Linked DNA regions of Homo sapiens: regions 2, 3, 4 and 5 are each linked to region 1. The links are contacts of gene promoters, found by promoter capture Hi-C in human tissues and cell types (Jung and others, 2019). All regions are on one chromosome and are shown on one strand. The core of a region is centred on a gene start or on the middle of the fragment in contact, and the rest is flanking DNA. Distances in the headings are between cores, read along the strand shown.

What was found. The method cuts DNA at HindIII sites, captures the fragments that hold promoters and counts their contacts. A contact is called where the count stands out against the background at its distance.
Region 2: a contact is called between a fragment that was not itself captured here and the fragment with the promoter of SLC47A2 in region 1, in 1 of the 25 tissues and cell types used here (dorsolateral prefrontal cortex).
Region 3: a contact is called between a fragment that was not itself captured here and the fragment with the promoter of SLC47A2 in region 1, in 2 of the 25 tissues and cell types used here (dorsolateral prefrontal cortex and mesendoderm cells).
Region 4: a fragment that was not itself captured here is called in contact with the fragment with the promoter of SLC47A2 in region 1 in 1 of the 25 tissues and cell types used here (mesendoderm cells).
Region 5: a fragment that was not itself captured here is called in contact with the fragment with the promoter of SLC47A2 in region 1 in 2 of the 25 tissues and cell types used here (dorsolateral prefrontal cortex and spleen).

Annotation. Positions count from the first base shown.
Region 1 is chr17:19,715,299-19,717,898 of GRCh38, reverse strand. It overlaps SLC47A2 (solute carrier family 47 member 2), which reads left to right and starts at 1,315. Exons shown (of 17, transcript NM_001099646.3): 1 at 1,315-1,466. The coding sequence starts at 1,344. It overlaps LOC124903948 (a long non-coding RNA gene), which reads right to left. Exons shown (of 2, transcript XR_007065659.1): 2 at 1-525. RefSeq lists enhancers at 140-987, 988-1,837. The HindIII fragment of the contact is 9,747 bases long and covers 1-2,600 here.
Region 2 is chr17:19,293,545-19,296,144 of GRCh38, reverse strand. All of the region lies in intron 4 of EPN2 (epsin 2), which reads right to left. Among named protein-coding and RNA genes, the nearest start is that of EPN2-AS1, 11 kb to the left of the region's middle. The HindIII fragment of the contact is 3,874 bases long and covers 1-2,600 here.
Region 3 is chr17:19,327,562-19,330,161 of GRCh38, reverse strand. It overlaps EPN2 (epsin 2), which reads right to left. Exons shown (of 11, transcript NM_014964.5): 8 at 1,275-1,451; 9 at 515-601. Among named protein-coding and RNA genes, the nearest start is that of MIR1180, 16 kb to the left of the region's middle. RefSeq lists a silencer at 1-158. The HindIII fragment of the contact is 3,792 bases long and covers 1-2,600 here.
Region 4 is chr17:19,357,329-19,359,928 of GRCh38, reverse strand. It overlaps B9D1 (B9 domain containing 1), which reads left to right. Exons shown (of 7, transcript NM_015681.6): 3 at 1,978-2,089. Among named protein-coding and RNA genes, the nearest start is that of B9D1, 4.1 kb to the left of the region's middle. RefSeq lists an enhancer at 1,728-2,227. The HindIII fragment of the contact is 5,514 bases long and covers 1-2,600 here.
Region 5 is chr17:19,436,239-19,438,838 of GRCh38, reverse strand. No RefSeq gene overlaps it. Among named protein-coding and RNA genes, the nearest start is that of LINC02094, 19 kb to the right of the region's middle. The HindIII fragment of the contact is 8,888 bases long and covers 1-2,600 here.

The DNA.
Region 1 (2,600 bases), core at 66-2,565:
TGGAGAGTGCTGTGATAAGAACCATCAGAACAAGGGCAGGAATGTGACCTCCCAGGTGATCCTGGGAGGATCCAGTGGAGCGTTTCAGAATTCTGTGTCAAAAAAGAAGGCTGCGTGTTGACTGGGGTGGGGCTGTGCCTGTGTTTGGGGCCGCCCATGGGTGTAGCAAACCCTTTTTTTTTTTTTGTATTTGTCCTGCCTCCTCTCCTTCAGGGTCTGCTCCTTCCTCCTCGCGGCTCTGGGGGCTGCATCTCGGAATCCTGCCGGCCACTCCTCCGCTGCAGGGGTGGACATGGGAACCAAGTGGGGCCTTTGGGATGTCTTCAGCCCTCCCACAGCCACTGGCCAGCCTGCCTGCTGTCTTCCTGCCCCCCTCGCTCACTCCTCCTTCTCCTGGGCTGAACCACACCCAAAAGCTTGATCCAGGACTGGGCTAGGTGACCGGTGCAATCCTTAGATGCCTCTCTTGGTTCCCACTGCCCTGCTGGTCTTGAGGCAGGTTGAGGGGGGAGTCACAGGCCATCCCTGCAAGGAAAAGCAGAGAGGGCAATTTGGGAAGGTGACAGAGGACCCTGTGGGACGTCGAGTCACAGCCTTGCTGGGCACAGTGACTGGCGTGCATAGTGAGCTGCTTTCCCAAGCACTGCCACCCCTGGCTCTCAGATATGCTGCTGAAAGGGGTGACGGGCAGTGGGGGGCTTGGGACTCCGCCGAGGTGTCCTAGCTCCCATCCCTATCCCCAGGCCCAGGCCCAGGCCCCTCCAGCATGAAAGGCTAGGGACCGCACTGCCATGGGGTTTGCCAGGCCCCTGTCTCTTGGGAAGCCACCCCTCCCAGGGAAAAGCAGGGCTGAGGGCTGTTCAGGCTCTGCCACCACCTGCTCTGTGACTTCGGGCAGGCCACCAATTCTTCTGAAAAACGGGAGTCACTGTGGGCACCATCACGCCCGGGTACAGGACGCCCAGTGGCTCAGCTGCCCCAGCCAGGCTGCCCTGTCCTGGCCTCAGCACACCTCCCACAGCCACTGCAGGCAGCCCTGGACCTTCTCCTGCTGAGGCCTTACTGCCAATCCCTCTGGGAGACCAGACACAACAGGCAGCGGTCTGGGTGACTCCCAGGAACCTGTCCTCCCTAGTGGCTGAGGCAGTAGGCTTGGCAGCAGGGACTCAGTGCCCTAGGAGGCAGGGCTCATCCCACAAGTTGCCATGGTAGCCCCTCCTCCTGCCCCTTACTCATCAGCCAGGCTGTACCGACACGGGCTGCCCAGGCAGGGGGTGGCTCGCTGGACAAAGCTGGCCGTGCAGGCGCTCAGGCGTGCAGGGTAGCCAGTGCCCCGGCCAGGAATGGACAGCCTCCAGGACACAGTGGCCCTGGACCATGGGGGCTGCTGCCCTGCCCTCAGCAGGCTGGTTCCCAGAGGCTTTGGGACTGAGATGTGGACTCTCTTTGCCCTTTCTGGACCCCTGGTAAGGAGGAGGAGCTGGGGGGCAGGTAGGGAGTGGAGGAAGCTGAGAGGCTGAGGGTGTCTGCCTTGCAGGCAGGATCCAGAAATGTGCTCACATTTTCCCCAGAAACTGCCCATGTTGACTGCCAGGTCCAGAGTCTGGGGACAGCAGGATGGCTCCTGAAAGCTGTCTCTGGACAATCCCCAGTGGCAGTGGGGCCTGACTTTGCTCAGCAGCAGGCAGCCCCCACACAGAAGGGGTGGGTGTGCCTCAGCTGGAAACCCACAAAAGCCTGAGTTGGAAGATGGCTCCAGGACAAATGGGACCCAGAGATGCATGAAGCCTGCAGCACCTTCGCAGGGGGAAGAAGGGGCCGGCTACCCATTTCATTTCCAAAGGGGAAATTGTTTTAAATACATTTATTTTTTCTGATCATGAAGAGGAATAGGCTGGGCGTGCTGCCTCACGCCTGTTATCTCAGCACTTTGGGAGGCCGAGCAGGGAGGATCACCTGAGGTCAGGAGTTGGAGACCAGCCCGGCCAACATGGAGAACCCCCCGACTCTACTAAAAATACAAAAATTAACCAGGCATGGTGGCGGGCGCCTGTAATTCCAGCTACTTGGGAGAGAGAGGCAGAGAATCGCTTGAACCCGGGACGGGTAGGTTGCAGTGAGCCGAGATCGCGCCACTGCACTCCAGCCTGGGCAACAAGGGCGAAACTCCGTCTCAAAAAAAAAAAAAAAAACAAAAAAAACAAAACCAAAAAGGAGTAATGGAATTGCACTTCCTGTAAAACTTTTAGAAAAAAATGAAAGATATAAAGAAGAAAGAAATTTAACTCAAATCCTAGTACTTGGAAATAGCCATTACTAAGATTTTGGTGTATTTAATTCCCCTCCTTTTTTGGGGGTGTGCGGCCTGACCAAATTATTGTTATAATAGGAACTGCAATAGCAGTATCAGACACTTGGGTCAAGCTCAGGGCGCCAGGCACTGCGCTGCGCCAGGCACTGACCCTTCTGGGTAGGGACGTGGAGGCCAGGCGTGACTGCAGCTGCAGAACGCAGAATGGGAGCTGGGCTAGGTCATCCGACCTCCAGCCCTGGCTTCCCCAGGCGTAGGTGACCTCTCGGGGCACTGGTGCGGGGCCCTC
Region 2 (2,600 bases), core at 63-2,562, 420 kb after region 1:
GAATGACTTCATGCCCTCACTGTACTTGGAGAAGCAGGTCGCAGAGTGGACTTGCGGGAGGAGCTCTGGTTATCCCACTGCAAGCTGGACTAAGCTGGACTAAGCTTTCCATTAGCAGTCAGCAGGAGGAGACTAATTTGATGTGTAATATCAATTTCCAAGCTGCTCCAAGTTGGAGTGTTGCCTAGCTGCCTGTAACTCTGTAAAAAGACACTGCTACGGGCCATGAGTTGAGGGGAGAGGGGAGGAAGAGCCCTTCAACTGATTAAAGCCTGACAGGGAACCAGCAGCCCCCAGCACACTGCTGTCAGTGCCACCGCGGCACCTGGGGCCCTCCCAGAGATTCTAATTTGAGAGGTGTGGGAGAGGTGTGGCCCAGGATTTGGGACATTTTGGGAGATTTAAAAGCTTGAGAGCTAGTGATTTAGGGAAAAAAGGCAACTGTCAAAATGAGGAACTGCCTTGTATCACTAAACAAAAACAACAACTATGAATCATACTGTTGCTAAACTCAACCTTAAAGCATCGAGAAACCACACAAATATATAAGGCATTCCTATATTTCTGGAATTGACTTCAAATGTATTTTTTCTTTTCTTTTCTTTTTTTTCTGAGAGGGAGTTTCACTCTTGTCACCCAGGCTGGAGTCTAATGGCACGATCTCGGCTCACTGCAACCTCCACTTCCTGGGTTAAAGTGATTCTCCTGCCTCAGCCTCCCAGGTAGCTGGGACTACAGGCATGCACCACTACACCTGGCTATTTTGCGCGCACGCGCGTGTGTGTGTGTGTGTGTGTGTGTGTATTTTTAATAGAGATGGGGTTTCACTGCGTTGGCAAGGCTAGTCTCGAACTCCTGCCCTCAGGTGAGGAGAGAGGAGAAGAGAGGCTTATTTAGCACTCATGCATGAAGTATGTTCTGAGCACCTTTCCTGGTTCAGGTGTTGTGCTAAAGACACTAGGGATACAGCACGGGGCATGAACGGGGCTCCTGCTCTAACAGCTTGTTTTAGTGCAGGGAGACAAAACAAAGCAAATAAGAGAATTTCAGGTAGTGAAAAAGACTCTGAAGATAGTAAAAAAGGATATGATACAGAGAGAGATTTAACTTATATGGCCTACTTCCCATGGGAAGACAAATCTATCTGCATGCCTTCCCTCCTGTTTCTAGTCATATAATTTTTTTTTAATGCCTCCTGGAAGTTGTCTATTTGAAACTAGCAACTGCTGTACTGAGCATCCATGAATAAAGACACCGTCAGCAGCTGTGACTATGCTAGCCAATCTGACTTAAAACATCTGACAGGGAACCAGCAGCCCCCAGTACAATGCTGTCAGTGCCACCGCAGTACCTGGGGCCCTCCCAGAGATTCTCATTTGAGAAGTGTGGCAAAGGTGTGGCCCAGGATTTGGGACATTTTGGGAGATTTAAAAGCTTGAGAGCTAGTGATTTAGGGAAAAAAGAAAAGGCAACTGTCAAAATGAGGAACTGCCTTGTATCACTAAACAAAAACTAACAACTATGTATCATACTGTTGCTAAACTCAACCTTAAAGCATCGAGAAACCTTCTACACTTATTGACAGTTTATAAACAATAGTTTGTTTACCTATACTACAAAGGATCCTTAAAAAACAGGTAAATATTGTATTGATCCATTTTCTATGGCACACGCCAATGTCAATCATTTAATCAATAACCCAATCCCCAATATTTTTTTTCTTTTGAGAAAGGGTCTCGCTTTGTCACCCAGGCTAGAATGCAGTGGCACAATCTTGGTTCACTGCAGCCTGGACTTCCTGAGCTCAGGCGATTCCTCCCACCTCAGCCCCACAAAGTAGCTGGGACTACAGGTGCACACCACCATGCCTGGTTAATTTTTTTTTTTTTTGTAGCGATGGGGTTTTGTTGTGTTGTCCAGGCTGGTCTCAAACTCCTAAGCTCAAGCAATTCACCTGCTTCAGCCTCTCGAAGTGCTAGGATTACAGGCATGGGCCACTGCAGCCGGCCTCCCAATCAGCAATTTTGATAGCACTGTTTCTTTTTTTTTTTTTTAAAGACAGAGTCTTGCTCTGTTGCCCAGGCTGGAGTACAGTGGTGCGATCTCAGCTCACTGCAACCTCTGCCTCCCAAGCTTCAAGCAATCTCCTGCCTCAGCTTCCTGGGTAGCTGGGATTACAAGCATCCACCACCACACCCGACTAATTTTTTGTATTTTTGGTAGAGACAGGGGTTTCACCATGTTGGTCAGGCTGGTCTCAAACTCCTGACCTCAAGTGATCCACCAGCCTCGGCCTCCCAAAGTGCTGGGATTATAGGCATGAGCCACCGCGCCCAGCCTTGATAGCACTGTTTCAATTCTGAGAACAATCCCATATTCTGACAATCAGAGGAGCTCCTTAAGATCTGGGGCCCAATTAAATAATGGTTTAATTAGGTATTCCTGGCTGAGTGTGGTGGCTTGTGCCTGCATGCCTGTAATCTCAACACTTTGAGAGGCCGAGGCCAGAGGATAGCTTGAGCCCAGGAGTTCCAGATCAGCCTGGGCAACGTGGCAAAACCCCACCTCTACAAAATACAGAAAGTAAAAAAAAAAAAAAA
Region 3 (2,600 bases), core at 55-2,554, 390 kb after region 1:
CACTTGGCCCACTGCATCCACCTGATATCCTTCCATCCCAGAGGCACACAGGGAAGGAAAACAGGTCTGGAGACTGGACTGTGGGTCTGCTGGGCTGGAGCGGTCACCTGGGAGGTGACAACACAGGGCAGAGGCTGGCCCCACTGATGCCCAAAGGTGGTTGTCTGGGAAAAGGAGGCCCTCTGAGGAGTGGAAATTGGCAGGAGGAGGGTGAATGGAAATGCTGGATCAGGCCAGAGGTGAGGCCCACTCTGAGCTGAGGAGGCCGGGGCTGTGGAATCTGCAGGAAGCTTTGGGGATCCTAACCTGGAGACATAGTCCTGGGGGACTCTACCTTGTGATTTTTAACTATTGATGTATGAATTCTTAGAATTAGAAACTTCAGGCTCCCAAGATCAAAATACAAAGAAAATGCAGGAAGCTGAAGGGTTTTGAAAGCTGATTATTATTTCTGCAATAACTCAGCTGGTCAAATGCACGGAGGATTATGGAAACCATCATCACCTGTACATACCTGTTTTTTTTGAAGTCCGAAGGTTGTCAAATTCAGAAAAGTCATCTTTAATTGTACCATTCAGATTACTGAAGAGCTCAAAGGACCCTGGGTGGACACAGAAGCCAATGACTGGGGGCATCTCACAGGACTTCATGGCAACTCCACTGCCCAGTGCACACCCTCAGGATGGGCTGGCAACAGGGGCCTCTCCCCGCTTACCCTACCTCATGGAGGAGAATTCTGAGAGCCAAAGAGGCAAGACAGCCTGGGGTCACCAGCACGCTGGGAGGGGAGACAGGGAGCCTGGCCTCCCAGGACAGGGTGTGGGATGCCCACCTGCTACTGCTTCTAACACCCTCACCCCAAAAGGCAAAGGGGTGCTGGCAGTGGTGGAGGTGCATCAAGCTGGGTCTGGTTGCTTGGATGAGGGTCTGTAGGAAGTCACCAGAAGGAGTGCCTGGAGGCCAGCCTGCCCAGCCCCCCAGGGGTGAGGACAGGACCCACAGGCTGTGGGCCCAGGGCAGTCTTCTCTCTCAACACCCAGGTGGAAGCCCCCTCAATTTGGAGGGAGGTACCAGCGCACAAAGCCTGGGAACTCGCACTCACTCACTCTCACACTGGGGCACCTGGGATCTGGGGATCAGGAACAAAGGCTAAGGGGGAGGAGGGGAGCAAATGCAAGCAAAGCAACAGGGCTGATGCCTAGGAGCCAGGAGCGGCTGCAGGGCCCGTGGGCGCTCAGAGGCCAGGCAGGAAAGTGGGTGAGTGAGGGGCTCACCAGAGACAGACACGGGCTTGGTGGTGGAGACTGCGCCCCACGCGTCAGAAGCTCTTTTCCCAGCACTGGAGGCAGGCTGCTGTGAAGCTGCCCAGGGGTCCGAGTTCTTGGGGACAGATTGTACGGTGGCTCCAGTGGGCACCCCCCATGGGTCAATGGAGGCAGCTGGCTTGGTACCTGTTGGAAGGCAGGGTCAGGGCTCAGAAATGCCTTCAGAGGGTCTGGGCAGCTGGGGTGAGAAGGGAAAAGGATACTGCCAGCCACACCAGGGTCTATGCCCTGTGCCAGGTGAGACAGCCATCAAAAGGGTACTGTCCCACGCCAGCAAAGAGGGACACAGCTGGGGCCCAGGGCCAACAACCCTGGTAAGGAAGCATGCTAGGCCAGGATGTCCCAGGATAACCTCTCCCTGTCCTCTAGTAATGACCAGAGGAAGCAGCTGAAAGAGGTTCTCTCCAAGCTCCCCACCATACAGGGGGCTTGCAAAGGGCTCCTGAGCTCAACCCCACTTCGATGGACTATCTGAAACAAACCTATCTCCCCACAGAATCCAGGCTCCCTCCTCAGACAAGGGGCCCCAGGCAGCCCTCCCACCTCGGCCCAGGCTCTGTAGAGGCACAGAGGCATCCTCTCCCCATGTGCTTTGAGTGGTTTCTGCTTTCTGACAGAAGCATATATAAATGGATGAGTCCTGTATAAAAAGGAATAAAACAAACAGCTACATACTTACCACCCAACTTAAGCAATAAAACACTTTCAAACAGGGAGTGACAAAATCAATTTAGTGGGTCACAACTGGCTTTAAAAAACAGAGAAAAAAATTTTTAAAAAAAGAAAAAACACACACAAAAAAACTAAAACATCTGAGTGCATCTAATGTTAAGTGTCAACGCTGTGATGTGCATCTTTATGTATAGACACAGATTTGTGTATACATGAGTACATATAAAATAAAACCAACATCTCCTTCCTTCTCGCGGAGCACTGCAAGTGTTCAGACACCACTGCCGCCTCTCAGGGACCAGAAAGTGCCTCCCCAATGACATTCCTACCCCAACCATTATGAACTGTTTATTAGCCTTTCTCTTGTTTCTCCTTCTAGTTTATCTTGTAGGGATACCTTTAGTTAGTTGTGCCTATTTTCTGAATACACACACACATATATATTATGTATATGTATGTGTGTCTAAATATGTGTGTGTATTCATTTATTTATCAGATAGGGTCTCACTCTGTCACCCAGACTGGAGTGCAGTGGTGCAATCACAGCTCACTACGCCTCCACCTCCCATGCTCAAGCGATCCTCCCACCGCCGCCTCCCAAGT
Region 4 (2,600 bases), core at 63-2,562, 360 kb after region 1:
CCAGGACTTCCCAAGGGGTAGCTTGCCTCCACCAGGTGAGGGACTGTGGTGACAACTTCAGCCCGCTCTGTGCTCTGCTGTTTGCAAAGCACTTGTTTCATCTTCATAGCAGTTTAAGAAAAGGAGACTGAACTTATTTAAGCTCTCTGAGCCTCAGTTTCCTCATTTGTACAACTGAGATGATAATCCTTCTTTTCCCTTTATTGATTGTCTTCTGGGTGCTGGGGATGCAGGGGTGAGCAAAGCCAAACCAGAAGACCCTGCCTTCCCGGAGCGCACGTTCTTGCTGGGGGGTCAGATAATAAGGAGTGCATATTCTAGGATGTTAGTAAGCCAGAAGTGTGAGGGGAGACCAAGCCAGGAAGTGACAGGGATGAGTGATGAGAAGGAGGCTGCGATCTCGCTAAGGCTGCCAGGGAGGGCCTTGCCGAGAAAGTAACTTTTGAGGAAAGACCTGAAGGAAGTGAGGGAACAAGCCATGTGGAAACCCGTGAGAACTGTCCAGGCAGAAACAGCAGAGAGTGCAAAGGCCCTGGAGCAGGAGCTTGCCTGGCATGTTTGAGGACCAGCAAGGAGGCTGTGTGGCCACTGGAGAGCGAGCCAGCAGGAGAGTGGCTGGAGCAGAGAGGCACCTGGGCAGGTCTTGTCAGAGTAAGGACTGTGACCTTTACTCAAAGGGAGATGGGATCCCACTGGAGAACTTTCAGCAGAGAAAGTGATCTGACTTATGTTTTTAGAAGATTCCCTGGCTTCTACGACAAGGATAGACTCGGGGGGAAAGGGCAAGAGCAGGCAGCCCAGTTGGCTCTGACAGCAGTGGAGATGGGAGAGGAGGGCAGTGGCAGTGGGGTGGTGGGAGGGGCTGGACTGCAAGTATATTCTGAAGATAGAGCCGCTGGGTTCTTTTGATGGATGTGAGGTCTGAGAGAAGGAGGAGTTAGGATTCACAGCAGGGCTTTTAGCCTGAGCACTTAGAAGTAGGCAGCTGCCTTTCAGTGAGAAGAACAGATTGGGGAGAGCTACCTGGAGCTCAGCCTGGTGTGGGTTAAGGTTGAGGCACCCACTGGATATCCAAGAGGAGGTGCTGATCCAGAGTGCAGAGGCAAGGACCAGGCTGGAGACATAAATTTGGGAATCATCGACATCTAGAGCACATTGAAAGCCATGAGATGGATGAGATCACCAAGTACAGGTAGAGGAGCTGGCCAAAGATGCAGCCTTAGGACGGCAACACTGAGAAGGAACCAGCAAGAGCCACTGAGCAGGGGCCACCCTGTGCAGTGGAGAGACCCAGAAGCCAAGGGAAGACAGTGTATCAAGGAGTAAGCAGCTGCATCAGGTGCTGCTGATGGGTCAAGTAACACGAGGATAGAGAAATGACCATTGGATCTAGCAATGTTGGTCACGGGCATTAATGGAGAAAACCCTTTGGTAGAGTGCTGGAGCCAGCAGTCACATTGGAGTGGGGTCACAAAAGAATAGCAGGGGAGGAATTGGAGCCGGTGAGTGTGGCAGCTCTTTGAGGCAGTTTTGCTATAAAGGGAGCAGAGAAAGGGTTGGTGGGTGGAAGAAGCCGCAGAGTTGAAAGAGGACTATTTTTGATGGAGAAAACACATTTACGTATTTACCGATGGGGATACTCAGGTGAGGATGGGGATACTCAGGTGAGGGTGGGGATGCAGGAGAGTGTAAGCATGCTGGACCATTCCTTCAGTGGGGCAAGAGCTTGGGACCAGATCTAGTGCCCTTGTGCCCGGGAGAGTGGCTGGCCTCCCAGGGTTGTCAAGCTACGGCGTTAAAGTACCAGACTTAAAGAGGTACTCCATCATCTCTTAGTCCCCTTTGTTTGGAAGTTCGTGTCTTGGGAGAAGACAGCTGAGAAAACAGCCCTCCCAACTGCCTGCTGAAGGTAAGGGGAGGAGCCGCAGCAGCTTGGCTCTGCTCTGAATCCAGCCGTCTGTGTCACTGTCCTCACAGGGTCTGGAGGAGGGGATCTCACAGATCACATCCAAGAGCCAAGATGTGCGGCAAGCACTGGTGTGGAACTTCCCCATTGATGTCACCTTTAAAAGCACCAACCCCTACGGCTGTGAGTCTGCAGGGGCCCTGTGGGGTAGGGTGGCAGAGCTTTCACACAGCACCCCCAAGACAGCCTCTGCCTCATCCAGCCCATGACTGTTCACATTCAGATTGTCACCTGGGCTCTTGAAGCAGCCCTCAACGTTCTCTCTCGCCATCTGTCCCTTTCCCTCCTCTTCTTCCTCATCCCCACTCACCCCCTTCATCTGCTACAGGCTGTGCAGCTGGCCTTCTGGAAGTTCAGAGTGCATCAGGGCTAGTGGCCACGCCTGTAAAAGGCAGGCTCCCCACCCTGGCATGCAGGACTGTGGCTGTTTGGCCTGGAGGCCTGACTCTGTGCCTGCTGACTTCCCATGGCGTGTTGTGTTCCGGCTAGACCCTGGCACTTTCTCCTCCTGTGCTAGTCCCTCAACTTTCTTCATCTGAGCTTTATTCATGCCGATCCATCTGTCTGGATACCATTCCCACGTCCTATGTCTAACCTCTTTCCCAAGGGCTTCCTGGCTGGCATTGCTTACTTT
Region 5 (2,600 bases), core at 50-2,549, 280 kb after region 1:
TCCAAACCCTTGTTTGCTTTTACCTACAAAGGAGTTCAATACTTAACTTAGTAAAGAATTTCTCAAGGATTTCAGGACTCTCCTACTCTTTTCTCTAGCAATTTACAGGAAATATTAGGGAAATTTGTCCCACCAGAGAAATTTATAATTATCCTGTCAACGAAAAGAGTCAAACTCTGTAAAATATTTGAAGAGATTTATTCTGAGCCAAACATGAGGACCAATGACATGTGACATAGCCCTAGGAGATCCTAAGAACATGCACCCAAGGTGATTGGGCCATAACTTGGTTTCATACATTCTAGGGAGACAAGACAACAATCAATACATGTAAGATGGCTGGGCATGGTGGCTCACACCTGTAATCCCAGCATTTTGGGAGGCCGAGGCGGGTGGATCAAAAGGTCAGGAGTTCAAGACCAGCTTGAACAACATGGTGAAACCTCATCTCTACTAAAAATACAAAAATTATCCAGGTGTGGTGGCGTGCACCTGTAATCCCAGCTATTAAGGAGGCTGAGGCAGGAGAATTGCTTGAACCCAGGAAGCAGAGGTTATGGTAAGCCGAGATCACGCCACTGCACTCCAGCCTGGGTGACAGAGCAAGACTCTGTCTCAAAATAATAATAATACATGTAAGATATACATTGGTTTGGTGCCGAAAGGTGAGACAACTCAAAGAGGGGGCTTCCAGGTCATAGGTGAATTCAGAGATTTTCTAATTGGCAACTGGTTGAAAGAGTTATTATCTAAAGACCTGGAATCCATAGAAGAGAATATCTGGGTTAAGATAAGGGGTTTGGGAAATCAAGGTTCTTATTATGCAGATGATGCCTTCAGGTAGCAGACTTCAGAGAGAATAGATTGTACATGTTTTTTTATCAGACTTAGAAAGGTGCCAGACTCTTAGTTAATTCTCTCCTGCATCAGGAAAAATACCTGGAAAGGGAAGGGGATTCTCTACTGAATGTAGATTTTCTCCACAAGATAAAGCTGTGCAGGGCCATTTCAAAATATGTCAAAGAAATATATTTTGGGGTAAAATATTTCTATTTCTTTTGGGGCCTGCTATCTGTCATGTTGGTATCTTATTGCTGCAAAGGGTCTATTTAAATCCAAAAATTAGTCAAGCATGGTGGCATGCACCTGTAATCCCAGCTACTCAGGAGGCTGAGGTGGGAGAATCACTTGAACCTGGGAGGCAGATGGAGGTTGCAGTGAGCCAAGATTGTGCCACTGCACTCCAGCCTCGGGGACAGAGTGAGACTCTGTCTCAAAAAAAGAAAAAATGAGTCTATTTCATCAGTGTTAAGGTCTCTTGTTTTAATATTAATGGTGGTCAGTTGTGCCTGAGTTCCAAGGGAGGAAGGTATAATGAGGCATATCAAACCACCCATTCCCATCATGGCCAGAAGTAGTGTTTCAGTTTATTTTGGAATCCCCTTGGCCAAGAAGAGGGGTCCATTCAGTTGGTTAAGGGGCTTAGAATTTTATTTTTGGTTTACAATCCAATATGTAGATGATTTGCTGATAGCCTAAGAAACTAAAGAGCAATGCCAAACTGATACTTTTGGCTTTGTTAGAATTCCTCACTTCAGAGAGGCTTAAGGCCTTACTAGACAAATTGTAATATTGCCAAACTGAGGTAAAATATTTAGGACATTTGTCACTGAAGAACACAAAAGTGTTATAATCTAGGAGTTAGCTAATTTTTCACATGAAATGGTCTACAACAGGAAAAATAACTTAAAGACAATTTTAGAGATGGGTAGGATATTTTCCACAGTGGACTCCAAGGTCAAACGACAAAACTACAACAAATTTAAAGATCTCAATTTACTTTATTATGAGCCTAGAATTGGGCAACACTCCATTCCAGAAAACAGAATAAGTGTTCCCACGAGCTGAGCAGAAGGGGTTGGCTTTACAGACAGAAGGGATGAAGAAAGCAGAAGCAAAGAACAAAGAGCATATCCCTGGTTTCAAAGCTACTTTTCTGGTAAGGTGGGCACAGGAAGACAGAACAATAGAGAATAACTGACTAGGTTATTCTCAGGTTGCTTCAGGCTGCTGCTTTTGTGTGAGGATTAAAGCAGAGAGAATTCATTATCATGCTGCTTAAAAATGGAAACTGGCCTGTTTGGGAAATCTCTCTCCTGTCAGATAACAACTTAGTTTTGGTTTTGTAACCTGGAACTTTAGCATAGGTGACTCTATTTTGATTTTTAGTCTGGTCCTCTGGGGTCTAGTGCAGGAGCTTCATCCAAAACAATGATCTCCCATAATTTTACTTTACTTAACACCAGCTTTTACAGGGCAGGCAAAAACCTCTGATGGAGCATTACATGACAATATTCCAGAATCTCTGACTTAATCCTTAGAACCTGAAAAGGCTTTTTTGTTTTGTTTTGTTTTTGAGACAGAATCTTGCTCTGTGGCCCAGGCTGGAGTGCAATGGCATGATCTCGGCTCACTGCAACCTCCTCCTCCTGGGTTCAAGTGGTTCTCATGTCTCAGCCATCTAAATAGCTGGGACTATGGGCACAGGCCACCACAGTTGGCTCATTTTTATATTTTGTAGAGACGGGGTTTCACCATGT